Regions from separate parts of the Homo sapiens genome. Here all the other regions are linked to region 2. Evidence: promoter capture Hi-C in human tissues and cell types (Jung and others, 2019). All regions are on one chromosome and are shown on one strand. Each heading gives the region's core, a stretch centred on a gene start or on the middle of the fragment in contact. The rest is flanking DNA. Distances are from core to core; before and after follow the strand shown. Region 1 holds the start of ZNF738 (zinc finger protein 738). Region 2 overlaps ZNF493 (zinc finger protein 493). Region 3 holds the start of ZNF708 (zinc finger protein 708).

The links. Contacts are between HindIII fragments. The study calls those that stand out against the background at their distance.
Region 1: a contact is called between the fragment with the promoter of ZNF738 here and a fragment that was not itself captured in region 2, in 4 of the 25 tissues and cell types used here (adrenal gland, dorsolateral prefrontal cortex, mesenchymal stem cells and 1 more).
Region 3: a contact is called between the fragment with the promoter of ZNF708 here and a fragment that was not itself captured in region 2, in 5 of the 25 tissues and cell types used here (bladder, hippocampus, liver and 2 more).

The regions. Positions count from the first base shown.
Region 1 is chr19:21,356,328-21,361,119 of GRCh38, reverse strand. It overlaps ZNF738 (zinc finger protein 738), which reads right to left and starts at 2,120. Exons shown (of 5, transcript NM_001355237.2): 1 at 1,977-2,120. The coding sequence starts at 1,979. RefSeq lists enhancers at 1,759-2,058, 2,850-3,407. The HindIII fragment of the contact is 7,981 bases long and covers 1-4,792 here.
Region 2 is chr19:21,423,603-21,428,232 of GRCh38, reverse strand. It overlaps ZNF493 (zinc finger protein 493), which reads right to left. Exons shown (of 4, transcript NM_001076678.3): 4 at 656-4,630. The coding sequence ends at 3,249. Among named protein-coding and RNA genes, the nearest start is that of ZNF493, 29 kb to the right of the region's middle. The HindIII fragment of the contact is 5,489 bases long and covers 1-4,420 here.
Region 3 is chr19:21,326,176-21,331,029 of GRCh38, reverse strand. It overlaps ZNF708 (zinc finger protein 708), which reads left to right and starts at 1,620. Exons shown (of 4, transcript NM_021269.3): 1 at 1,620-1,820. The coding sequence starts at 1,818. RefSeq lists a silencer at 1,307-1,528 and enhancers at 775-1,763, 1,648-1,827, 1,868-2,067, 3,156-3,677. The HindIII fragment of the contact is 12,621 bases long and covers 1-4,854 here.

The sequences.
Region 1 (4,792 bases), core at 871-3,370, 68 kb after region 2:
CATTTATGCAGGGCGCAGTGGCTCACGCCTGTAATCCCAGCACTTCGGGAGGCCAAGGCGGGCGGATCACCTGAGGTCGGGAGTTCATGACCAGCCTGACCAACATGGAGAAACCCTATCTCTTCTAAAAATACAAAATCAGCTGGGCGTGGTGGTGCATGCCTGTAAACCCAGCTACTTGGGAGGCTGAGGCATGAGAACCTCGTGAACCCGGAGGCGGAGGTTGTGGTGAGCCGAGAATGTGCCTTTGCAACAAGAGTGAAACTCCGTCTCAAAAAAAAAAGAAAAGAAAAAAGCACCATTTAATGCCTTGCCAAAAAATAATTAATTAAAATACGGTATAAAAAAGTACACTACAAAATAAGTGGCCAGGCCCGGTGGCTCACGCCTGTAATTCCAGCACTTTGGCAAGCTGATGCGGGCGGATCACCTGAGGTCAGGAGTTCGAGACCAGCCTGGCCAGCATGGTGAAACCCCCGTCTTTACAAAAACACAAAAATTAGCCAGGTATGATGGCGCGCACCTGTAATCCCAGCTACTAAGGAGGCTGAAGTGGGAGAATTGTTTAAAACCGGGAGGCGGAGGTTGAGGTGAGCCGAGATCGCGCCATTGCACTCCAGCCTGGGAGACAGAGCGAGACTCCATCTCAAAAACAAAACAAAACAAACAAAAAAACACAAATACGTGATAATGTGAATTAGGGAGGAAAAGCTGGCATTTGGGAACCCCAGAAGAAATTGGAAATTTAGTATCTTACTGCAAGCAAGAATGAGGTTGGAGTAATGAGGGATGGGGGTTAGACTTAAGACCCTGATTGGGACCCAGGTGAAAAATGCAGCAGAAAATCAGTTCCCTGTGGAGTGTGAAAATAATTAAGTGGCAGGCAATTAGACTGAGGTTTCTCTAGTCCCTGGGTTCCTACTTCAATTTAAAAAATCTAACTCAGGCGCATTATTTTTAATTACTAAATTCAGAGAAACAAAATTGAGGCTTCACCTACTATAAACTGCCAATTGAGCTCCGATTACATAACCAGGAAATTTTCACCTTTAATGTACAAATTAAAAAACCACGTAACTGTACCTAACCAATTACTAAATTTGGTTTTCTTCATCATGCATTTTACAAAAGACTTTCTTTCAAGCCTCTCCCATAGACCACAAACTAAAAACCACAGCTTGGTGCTCTACAATTCTAGAACCACTTTTTGATTAAATTATTTAATAAGTTAATTTTTTTTTTGAGACAAGAGTCTCGCTCTGTCGCCCAGGCTGGAGTGCAGTGGCACGATCTCGGCTCACTGCAAGCTCTGCCTCCTGGGTTCACGCCATTCTCCTGCCTCAGCCTCCTGAGTAGCTGGGACTACAGGCGCCCGCCACCACGCCCGGCTCATTTTTTGTATTTTTAGTAGAGACGGGGTTTCACCGTGTTAGCCAGGATGGTCTTGATCTCCTGACCTCTGATCCGCCCACCTCGGCCTTCCAAAGTGCTGGGATTACAGGCGTGAGCCACCGCGCCCAGCCTAGAACCACTCTTTGATTAAATTCTTTTAATATTTTTGCAGTGACTCCCATTAACTTTTAATAGGAGATAATAGGAACTGGGAACCCCACGGAACAAACCTCTTCCCATTCATGAACCCGCACCCCAAGTCAGGATTCTCCCCTGACGACCCTCCCACGGTCCCTGCACAATCCGGTAGAGAAGCGGCGCTGCGGGTGCAGAGATTCCCCAGAGAGGGCTCCAGGCAAGGGCACAGTCACTATGCAGGGAAGAGACAGGACGCCCGGGGGCCGGGCTGTCGGCGCAACCGCCATCTTATGGCTGAAGGCGACTGAGGCCGAGCTGGGCAAGGAGAACTCGGGGCGCAGATTGTAGAGCTGACTGCGGGGAGGCCTGAGTCTCGCCACAGCCACTTCCCACCGGTTCCAACCAGCCCTTCCCCTCTCTCGGGATGTTGGACCCCGCACTCTCACCATTTCTAGGCTTCCAGGGTGTCCCGGCGTCTTAGCTGTGGATTCCCAATACCTGCAGGTCACAGGACCAGAGGCTGGGCCTCTAGGAGCAGAGGACACAGAGCAGTGAAGACGAGACCCGGAGTTCCAGCGGCAGCCAAAGACAAAGAAGCGGACAAATCCCGCCACATCCCGGAAGCCGTCCTCTCCGCTCAAGCTGCGTGCCTGATTGGACAGTTCCCAGCCCAGCGTCGCTGATTGGATAACGTTTAAAACCCCACCCTCTCAGGCCCTGACTGACAGAAGATGTAATTAGATGCTGGGCTGAATGAAGAAAGAGTGACCGCCTAGGCTGCAGCCTTTTCAGGCAGGGCTTCCTCCTTGAGCTGAGATAGGCCCACCCCAAAGGGTATTTGCATTCAACCTTGCGTATAAGGTCATATGCATTTGTAAATACTATATCATATGGCTATACATAAATGAAAAGGATATAATAACAAATGTTTTAAAATTTCAGGGTTTTTTTACTTTCCTGGCTTACGGTCCTTTGAGCAGGCAGCCTGAGATTTTAAAAAGGAGGTAATCCTCTGAAATAAAATGTGAGCCACGTGAATTTTGAATTTTCTGGTAGCCAAACTAGAAAATTAAAAAGAAACAAGGGGCCAGGCATGGTGGCTCACGCCTGTAATCCTAGGACTTTAGGAGTACAAGGCGGGCAGATCAAGAGGTCAGGAGTTTGAGACCAGCCTGGCTAACATGGTGAAACCACGTCTCTACTAAAAATACAAAAATTAGCCGGGCGTGGTGGTGGACATCTGTAATCCCAGCTACGCAGGAGGCTGAGGCAGGAGAATTGCTTGAACCCGGGAGGCGGAGGAGGTTGCAGTGAGCAGAGATCGCGCCACTGCACTCCAGCCTGGGCGGACAGAGCGAGACTCCGTTTTGGGGGGTGAAAAATATAAAGAAACAAGAGGCCACGCGCAGTGGCTCACGCCTGTAATCCCAGCACTTTGGGAGGCCGAGGCTGGTGGATCACGAGATCAAGTGATTGAGACCCTCCTGGCAATATGGCTAAACCCTGTCTCTACTGAAAAAAATATAAAAATTAGCCAGGCGTGGTGGCGCATGCCTGTAATCCCAGCTACTGGGGAGGCTGAGGCAGGAGAATCGCTTGAACCCGGGAGGCAGAGGTTGCAGTGAGCCGAGATTGCGCCACTGCACTCCAGCCTAGTGACAGACTGCAACAACAGCAACAACAACAACAACAATAACAAGGAACAGGTTGAATTGATTGTAACAATGTAATTAACCTAATATATACAAAATATCATTTTAATGTGTGAGGAATATGTAATTATTAATGAAGTATATAAATATTTGCAACTAAATTTTTGAAAATAACTCTGTGTTTTACCTTTCTAGCATATCGCGGTTCAGACCAAGCACATTCCAGGCACCCAGGAGCCACACATGGCAGCTCTGATGTCAATGGTGTGAAGGGCCAGAGGGGAAGGAAGGGCCTCTCCCTACTAACATCTATCTTCAGTTCTGAGGTTGGAACAGATAGTGGCCATAGAAAGAGCTGAGGGCAGCAGAAATAAAATAACCACAGGTAAACCACTGCTTACCACCTGTTGCCCACCTTTCTTTTAGAGATTAGGCTGTGAACATAGGATGATGGAGCTTAGGAGAAAAAAACTCTGTGTCTTCAGTTCTGCCCACATTCTTGGACTCCAGTGTTTAGATACAGAGAAAATAGATTAAAGGCAAACTTATTTTGCTATTTGGCCTTGACCCTAATTGCGAGGCTGTGGTTATCTGTTTTCTCCTGTGGTGTGGGGACTGTGCGAATATAAACACCAATCACATGCATACATGTCTCCCAGTATTTCTGCATTACCCAACATTCTCTTTCAAGACATCCAACTTTAAATTAGGGGAAGAAATCAGTACCTAGAGGGTGCCCACTGTTAGAAGGCAACAAGTAATCAACCTGTCACTGAATCCTGGCATCCTATCTGCACTGGTGCATGTATTAGTTAGCTATTGCAGCATAACAAATCATCCAAAACTTACTAGTTTATAATTAAGATGATCAGCCATTTAGGCTGGGTGAGTGGGGCCGTTCTTCTGGTATCAGCTGAGCTCTTTCAGACTGGTATCATCAGCTGCTTGTTGACTAGCCAGCTGTACTTCTGGGGGTGATCTTCTGCTTCTGGGGCTCAACAGGGGCACCTTGCTTCTCCTCCTCATGGTATCTTATTTTTAAGCTTGCTAACATGGGCTTTATTCATGGAGATTGCAGCATTCTGAACAAAAAACAGAAGTATTCAAGACCATTTGAGCCTGGGCCCCAAACTAGCCCACTGTCATGTTCACAAGTTTCTACTGCCCTGAGCAAATAAGGCCAGCCAGATCTAGGGTTTAGAAGACAGATTCTGGATCTTGATGGAAACAGCTGTAAAAGCACCTGACAATGGGCATAGATACAAGAGGGCAGAAAAATTGCTGCCATTTTGCAATCAGTATCAGTCTACCTTTTTTGCATATGTGGTATATAGAGCTTCTCCACATCAACAAACATGTCCAAAGACCCACGAGTACTAAGTGACTGGAATAAGACTCAGGATCAACTTTATCTGACGCCAAAGCCCATGCACCTCCATAGATCATACTACTAAAGTAGCTGCCCTGCCCTAGACCCTTGAAATCCTGGAGAGTGACACTTCTACAGAATAAGTCAGATTCCTTTTAGGTTTGTGTTCATATACTACTGTTTATCACTGGAAATAATCCTCTTAAGAAATTGCAGAAGAGGCCACGTGCAGTGGCTCATG
Region 2 (4,630 bases), core at 427-2,926:
TCCTGAGACAGAGCCTCACACTGTCACCTGGGCTGGAGTACACTGGCATGATCTTGGCTCACTGCAACCTCCACCTTTCAGGTTCCCTTGATTCTCCTGCCTCAGCCTCTTAAGTAGCTTGGATTACAGGTGCCTGCCACCACACCCAGCTAATTGTTTGTATTTTTAGCGGAGACAGGGTTTCACTATGTTGGCCAGGCTGGTCTTGAACTCCTGACCTGGTGATCCACCTGCCTCGGCCTCCCAAAGTGGTGGGATACAGGCATGAGCCACCACACCTGGCCATAATTGTACATGTTAAAATAAGTAAAAGTGTAGAATTGGGTTGTTTTTAATACAAAGAAATAAGTGCTAGAGGTGATGGATACCACACGTATCCCAATGTGATTATTACATATTGTATTTGTGTATCAAAATATGCCATATATGGCATAAGTATATAAACTCATGTACCCACAAAAATTAAGAAAAATAAATTTAAATGATTAAAATAAAAATAAAAATTTAACCTATAAGAACAATATTCTTTAACTTATTTGCAGTTCGAAGCCACTGGCAAAAGAGATGACTACAGATGTTAGTCCATGATGTTACCAAATAGTATATTGTTACCATCTTTTACGTATGCCATTTGGTAAGGTGGAAAATGTTAATCTTTGTGGCATAACAACACTTTATTGAATGCACAATAATATTTACCATGTTAAAAATGTTGAAACAGTTACCTTCACACAGAATTTAAAATTTTTTAAAATGTACTGCATTTTATTATATAAAAGTACAATTGGGGGGAGGGGGGACGGATAGCATTGGGAGATATACCTAATGCTAGATGACGAGTTAGTGGGTGCAGCGCACCAGCATGGCACATGTATACATATGTAACTAACCTGCACATTGTGCACATGTACCCTAAAACTTAAAGTATAATAAAAAAAGTACAATTAGTAAAATATATGAATAATATACTAGTTTTCTCATAATGCAAAAGAATATTACTCTTAACACCTACCTTGTGCATCACTCAATAGTATAAGTTAACCACAAAGAACCTCTCCACTTAGATTTTCACCATGCATCTTACATTTTAATATTCTTACTCATCCATAGAAAAGATCATAAATAATGCCCATCTAATGAAGAAGAATCTCTCATACCTCTGATGCAGCAACAAATGATCACAAGCTTTCACAAGTGAATAAGAATGAAGAAACAGCAGAAAATAATGAGTTGAGTTACATCATTTGCTTTTCAAAAAATCTGTAATTTTTTCAAGAAACAAAGTATAATCCGAATATAGTTATTATTCTACAAAAAATCTTTTACTCCTCTTAACATTATATACAAATAATTTTTCTACCAACTTTAGTTTTATTTTCTATACTCAGAACTCTCATTTAGTAGAATATTCGAAGTGTCGCTTCCTCATATATTTCTACTATAAATTCTGGTATTTACATAGACAAATTTGGATTAAAATTTTTTTTATTTTTACTACACCTTTGAAAATATATTTTCGTATAAACTCTGGTGTTTTCTAAGCTGTAGTTTTTGAAAATTTGTTTTCCCAAATTTATTACATTTGCAAGACAGCTCTCCAATATAAATTCCCTGATGTTGAACAAAGTTTGAGTGACCTCTTCAGAGTTTTTCTGTAGTACAAAATGTGGACAATAAGATCTGATACAAGTAAAGGTACTTCAACCCTCTTTATGGTTGTAATGTTCATCTTTAATATAAATACTCTCCTTCACTTTAAAGGATAATATTTTCTGAAAGATCTTTTGGCAGTAATTGCACTTATCATGCTTTTATTAAGCATGAACTCTCTGGTGTTTAGTAAGATGTGAGCAGATATTGACGTCTTTTTCACAGTCTATATTTCTACAATTTTTCTCAAATATAAATGATTTTCTGTGCAATAAGGTGTATTAGTTAAAAACTTTGCCACATTGTTCTTACTTGTAGGAAATTTTTCCAATATGAATATTACCTATAATCAAGTGTGACAACCATTTAAATACTTTGTTACATTCTCCACATTTCTAGGATTTCTCACCAATATGATTTCTTTTATGATTAGAAAAGTTTGAGATGTTGTCAGAAGCACTGTCACATCTTACTGGTTTGTAGAGTTTCTCTGCAGTAAGAATTATCGTATGTGTGTTAAGAACTGAGGACTAGTTAAAGCCTTTGCCATATTTTTCACAATCATAGGGTTTCTCTCCAGTATGAATTTTCTTATGTTTAGTAAAAATTGAGGACTGGTTAAAGGCTTTGTCACATTCTTCACATTTGTAGGGTTTCTCTCCTGTATGAATTATTTTGTTCAATAAAGTTTGAGGACTGGTTAAAAGCTTTGCCACATTCTTCACAGTTGTATGGTTTCTCTCCATCATTAATTATGTTTACTAGGAGTTGAGGACTGGATAAAGGCTTTGCCACATTCTTCACATTTGTAAGATTTTTCTCCAGTATGAGTTATCTTATGTTTAGTAAGGTTTGAAAATTGGTTAAAAGCTTTGCCACATTTTTCACATTTGTAGGGTTTCTCTCCAGCATGAATTATCTAATGTGTAGTAAGGGTTGAGGATTGGTTAAAAGGTTTGCCACATTTTTCACATTTGTAGGGCTTCTCTCCAGTATAAATTATCTTATGTGCAGTAAATTGGAGGGACAGGCTAAAGGCTTTGCCACATTCCTCACATTTGTAGGTTTTCTCTCCAGTATGAATTATCTTATGTTTACTAATGGATGAGGATTTGTTAAAAGCTTTGCCACATTCTTCACATTTGTATAATTTATCTCCTTTATGAATTATTTTATGTTTAGTAAGGTATAAGAATCAGTAAAAAGCTTTGAGACATTCCTCATATTTGTAGGGTTTCCTTCCAGTATGAATTATCTTACGTGTAGGCAGGGTTGAGAAGTGGTTAAAAGCTTTGTCACATTCTTCATATTTGTAGGATTTCTCTATGGTATGAATTCTCTTATGTTTAGTAAGGGATGAGAACTAATTAAAGCCTTTGCCACATTCTTCACATCTGTAGAATTTCTCTCCAATATGAATTATCTTATATTTAGTAAGGTATGAGAATCAATAGAAATCTTTGCCACATTCTTCACATTTGTAGGGTTTCTCTCCAGCATTAATTATCTTATGTGTATTAAGGGTAAAGTACTGGTGAAAAGCTTTGCCACATTCTTTAGTAAGGGAATAGGAGCAGTAAAGGCCTTTGCCACATTCTTCACTTTTGTACAGTCTCTTCAGTATGAATTCCAATATGAATTATCTTATGTCTACTAAGATGTGAAGACCGCCTAAAAGCTTTGCCACATGCTTCACATTTGTAGGGTTTGTCTCCAGTATGAATTAGCTTATGTTTAATAAGGTTTGAGGAATGGTTAAAAGCTTTGCCACATTCTTCACATTTGCAAGGTTTCTCTCCAGTATGAATTATCTTATGCGTATTAAGGTTTGAGAATCGGTAGAAAGTTTTGCCACATTTTTCACATTTGTAGGGTTTCTCTTCAGTATGAATTATCTTATGTTTAGTAAGGGTTGAGAATATACTAAAGGCTTTGCCACATTCTTCACATTTGTAGGGTTTTTGTACACTATGAATTTGCTTGTGCCCAGCGAGGTGTGAGGACCGCTTAAAAGCTTTGCCACATTCTTCACATTTGTAGGGTTTTTCTCCAGTATGAATTTTCTTATGTATACTAAGGATTGAAGATCGGTTAAAAGCTTTGCCACATTCTTCACATTTGTAGGGTTTCTTATCAGTATGAATTATCTTGTGTTTAGTAAGGGTTGAGAATACACTAAAGGATTTGCCACATTCTTTACATTTGTAGGGTTTGTGTCCAGTATGAATTCTCTTATGTGTAGTAAGGTGTGAGGACCGATTAAAAGCTTTGCCACATTCTTCACATTTGTAGGGTTTTTCTCCAGTGTGAATCATTTTATGTATAGTAAGGGTTGAAGATCGTTTAAAAGCTTTGCCACATTCTTCACATTTGTAGGGTTTTTCTCCAGTATGAATTATTTTATGTATACTAAGGGTTGAAGATTGGTTAAAAGCTTTGCCACATTCTTCACATTTGTAGGGTTTCTCTTCAGTATGAATTATCCTATGTTTAGTAAGGGTTGAAGATCGTTTAAAAGCTTTGCCACATTCTTCACATTTGTAGGGTTTCTCTTCTGTATGAATTATTTTATGTTTAGTAAGAATTGAGAATACACTAAAGGTTTTGCCACATTCTTCACATTTGTAGGGTTTCTCTCCAGTATGAATTCTTTTATGTGTAGTAAGGTGTGAAGACTCCTTATAAGCTTTGCCACATTCTTCACATCTGTGGGATTTCTCTTCAGTGTGAATTATCTTATGTTTAGTAAGGGTTGAGAAAATACTAAAGGCTTTGCCACATTCTTCACATTTGTAGGGTTTCTCTCCAGTATGAATTCTTTTATGTGTAGTAAGGTGTGAGGACTCCTTATAAGCTTTGCAATATTCTTCACATCTGTGGGATTTCTCTTCAGTGTGAATTATCTTATGTTTAGTAGGGGTTGAGAAAATACTAAAGGCTTTGCCACATTCTTCACATTTATAGGGTTTTTCTCCATTAT
Region 3 (4,854 bases), core at 371-2,870, 97 kb after region 2:
GCTCTGTCTATGACCACTGTCTGTTCTACCCTCAGAACCGAAGAGAGATGTTGGTAGGGAGAGGCTCTCTCCTCACCTCCGGCAGAAAAGGGATGTTCAGGTCGTTCACCCTCCTGATGTCAGAGCTGCACTTCAATGTAGCAGCTATTGGCCCTGTGTTGCTACTGGCTGCCTGGAATGCGCCTGGTCTGAACTGCGATGTGCTAGAAAGGTAAAATACGAGTTAGTTTCAAAGGTTTAGTTCCATATATATAGACACACTTCATTAATAATTACATATTTCTCACATATTAAAATGACAATATTTTCGATATATTGGGTTAAATTGTTACAATCAATTTCACCTGTTCTTTGTTTCTTTTTAAAAATAGAGCTAAACTCTTTTTAAAGTTTGGCTACAAATTAGCCGGGCATGGTGGCCAGCGCCTTTTATCTCAGCTACTTGGGAGGCTGAGGCAGGAGAATCGCTTGAACCCGGGAGGCAGAGGTTGCAGTGAGCAGAAATCGCGCCATTGCACTCCAGCCCAGGCAACAATGTGAGACTCCGTCTAAAAAAATAAAAATATAAAATAAAGTTTGGCTACTAGAAAATTTAAAATTTACATGTGGCTCACATTTTATGATTTTATTTTATTTATTTATTTTTTTTGAGACAGAGTTTCACTCTTGTTGTCCATACTGGAGTGCAGTGGCGTGATCTCGTCTCACTGCAACCTCCACCGCCCAGGATCAAGCGATTCTCCTGCCCCAGCCTCCCAAGTAGCTGGGATTACAGGCGCCTGCCACCATGCCCAGCTAATTTTTTTGTATTGTTTTAGAGACGGGGTTTCACCATGTTGGCCAGACTGATCTCGAACTCTGAACCTCAGATGATCCACCCTCTTCGGCCTCCCGAAGTACTGGGATTACAGGCGTGAGGTACAGCGCCCAACTTGTGGCTCACATTTTATTTCAGAGAATTGCCTCCTTTTTAAAATCTCAGGCTGCCTGCTCAAAGGACCAGAAGTCAGGAAGGTCACAAAATATAAAATTTTAGAACAGTTGGGCCGGGCGCAGTGGCTCATGCCTGTAATCCCAGCATTTTGGGAGGCCGAGGCGGGAGGATCACCTGAGGTCTGGAGTTTGAGACCAGCCTGACCAACATGGAGAAACCCCGTCTCTACTAAAAATACAAAAAAATTAGCCGGGCATGGTGGCGCATGCCTGTAATCTCAGCTACGCGGGAGGCTGAGGCAGGAGAATCGCTTGAACCCGCGAGGTGGAGGTTGCGATGAGCCAAGATCGCGCCATTGCACTCCAGCCTGGGCAACAAGAGTGAAACTCAATCTCAAAAAAAAAATTTTTTTTAGAACAATTGGGTTATTATATTCTTTTCATTTGTGAATAGCCATATAGCATATTATTTATAAGGGCATATGACCTTATACACAAGATTAAAGGCAAACACCCTCTCGGGTGGGCCTGGCTCAGCTCAGGGAGGAAGCCTTGCCTGAAAAGGCTGCAGCATAGGCTGTCACACTTCATTCAGCCCAGCATCTGATCACATCTTCCGTCCCTCAGGGCCTGAAGGGGCGGGTTTTAACATTATCCAATCAGGGACTCTGAGCTGGGGACAGTTCACTCAGACACGCAGCTGGACCGGACAGGGCGGCTTCCGGGTTTGGCGCGGCCTTTGTCTCTTGCTGCAGCCGGAGCTCCGGTCTCGTCTTCACTGCTGTTTGTCCTCTGCTCCTAGAGGCCCAGACTCTGTGGCTCTGTGACCTGCAGGTATTGGGAGATCCACAGCTAAGACTCCAGGACCCTCTGGAAGCCTAGAAATGGTGAGAGTGCCGTCCGACATCCCGAGAGAGGGGAAGGGCTGGTTGAAACCTGTGGGAAGTGGCTGTGGCGGGACTCAGGACTCCCCGCAGTCATCTCCACAATCTGCGCTCCGAGTTCTCCTTGCCTAGCTCGGCCTCAGTCCCCTTCAGCCATAAGATGGCGGCTGCGCCGACAGCCGGGCCCCCGGGCGTCCTGTCTCTTCCCTGCGCAGTGACTGTGCCCTGGCCTGCAGCCCTCTCTGGGCGGCTCTGCACCGGCAGCGCCGCGCCTCTCCCAGATTGTGCAGGGACCATGGGAGGGTGGTCAGGGGAGAATCCTGACTTGGGGTCGGGTTCATGAATGGGAAGAGCTTTGGTCTGTGGGGTTCCCGGTTCCTATTTTCTCCTATTAAAAATCTGTGGCAGTCATCGCAAAAAATATTAAAGAATTTAATCAAAGAGTGATTCAATAATTGTAGAGCACAAAAGTATGTTTTGTAGTTTGTGGTTCATGGGAGGAGCTTGAAGGAAAGACTTTTTATAAGGTGCATGATGAAGAAAACTATATTTAATAATCGGTTAGGTACATTTACGTAGCTGTTGCTGTTAAGTAGAAAGCCGGGGACTAGAGCCTCCTCAGTGTAATTGCCTGCCACTTAATTATTCTCACACTCCACAGGGGACTGATTTTCCCCTGCATTTTTCACATGCGTTCCAAGCGGGGTCTCAAGTGTACCTCCCAGCCCCATTCCTCCAGCCTAACTCTGGCCTGCAGTTAGATTTAAACTGCAAATAAACTAAAATACTAAATTTCTAGTTCCTTCTGACATTTCCAAATGCCAGCTTGCCTTTCCTAATTCACATTCTCAACTGTTTTTCCTTTAGTGTACATTTTTGATACTGTATTTTAGTTAATCATTTTTTGACAAAGCATTGGATGGCACTTAAAATTGTTTTCTGGTTGAAAATATTTCTCATGAGAAGAAAGCAAAAAATAATTCCCTGACACTGTATTTTATGAAATTTCTATGGCTTTTTTTTTTTTATCTTCCTCAGGCACAGAAATCTTATCAGAATGTTTGTTTTCAGGTGAAGGTTTTTCTTTGGAAACTTTACGGAGTGATGTGTCTTCAGCCACCCTTCAGTTTTTTCCTGGTCCTGGGTTTCAGTACTGTCTGGAGTAAACCAAGATACACATCATGACTTTTTCTGCTAGAGTGTCTAGTGAATATCAGCTCCTGGGTCATTTTTCTCCCTGAGGACAACCTGAGGTATGGAGTGTAGCTTCTCAAGGGAGCAGGTGGATGCCCTGGGGCTGAGAGGCATCTCCTGGCATACTCTTCCTTTGAAAAGCTAACCCCTTGAGACATTAAGATTGTCTTCACCCAACCCAGCTTCCATTTCTTGGAGACACAGTGCTGGTCAGCCAATCAGATGCTGGTATTGAGGGGAAAACACAGAAATAATTTCTGCCCCCTGAATTCTCTAAATTTTGTGGAAAAAAAAAAGTATCCCAAAAGACAAAGAAAAACCTGACCCAAGTGAGATGGTGCAAGAACTTACAAAGTAAAATGCACCTGGGGCATAGTGTAATGTCTCCTGAGAGGGTGGTTATTGAGCACTTAAGGTGAGCAGAATGGGGTGGGTGAATATCAGTCAGACACATCTGTTTTCTTTCTTTTCTTTTTTTTTTTTTTTGAGGTGGAGTTTCACTCTTGTTGCCCAGGCTGGAGTGCAATGGCACGATCTCGGGTCACCGCAACCTCCGCCTCCCAGGTTCAAGCGATTCTCCTGCCTCAGCCACCCGAGTAGCTGGGATTACAGGCATGTGCCACCACACCCAGCTAATGTTTTTGTATTTTTAGTAGAGATGGGGTTTCTCCATGTTGGTCAGGCTGGTCTCAAACTCCAGACCTCAGGTGATCCGCCCGCCTCGGCCTCCCAAAGTGCTGGGAATACAGGCGTGAGCCACCGCGCCCGGTCTAGACACATCTGTTTTCTAATTAGCACTACCACTCCCTGGGTTTGTCACCTTGAAAAGATTTGTTCACTTATGTTGACTTCCATTATTTAACTGTAAATTGCATTTTATTAATAGGACTTGGAAGGTAAGAAAATATTAACAGAGGGCATAAAAGAGGTGGATTTCAGAAAAAATTAATATTAATCATGTATTTTATTTGTGAGAAATTCTCATTTAAGTTTTCCTTTCTTAGAGTAAGTTTAGGAATTTTCTCAGATGTATTTTTTGTGAATATATATATAATCAAATATATATGTATTTATATTTATATTTAATATGGACTCTTGCTCTTGTTGCCCAGGCTGGAGTGCAATGGCACAATCTTGGCTCACTGCAACCTCTGCCTCCCGGGTTCAAGCAATTCTTCTGCCTCAGCCTCCCGGGTAGCTAGAATTACAGGTGGGCGTGCCACCATGCCCAGCTAATTTTTGTATTTTTTGTAGAGAACGGGGTTTCTCCATGTTGGCCAGGCTGGTCTCAAATTCCTGATCTCAAGTGATCCACCCGCCATGGCCTCCCAAAGTGTTGGGATTATAGGCATGAGCCACCGCGCCCAGCCTATTTTATGAGATTTTGGTGCACCCATCACCAGAGCATTATACACTGCACCAAATTTGTAGTCTTTTATCCCTCGTCCCCCTTCCACTCTTCCCCTCAAATCCCCAAAGTCCATTGTATCATTCTTATGCCTTTGCATCCTTATAGCTTAGCTCCCACATAACAGAACATACCATGTTTGGTTTTCAACTCCTGAGATACTTTGCTTAGAATAATAGTCTCTAGTCTCATCCAGGTTACTGCAAATGCTGTTAATTCATTTTTTATGGCTGTGTAGTATTCCATTGTATATATATACCACAGTTTCTTTATCCATTCATTGATTGATGAGGATTTGGGTTGGTTCCATGATTTTGCTATTGTGAAATGTGCCACTATGAACATGCGTGTGCAAGTATATTTTTCGAATAATGACTTCTTTTCCTCTGGGTAGATACCCAATTGTGGGATTGCTGGATCAAATGGTAATCCTAC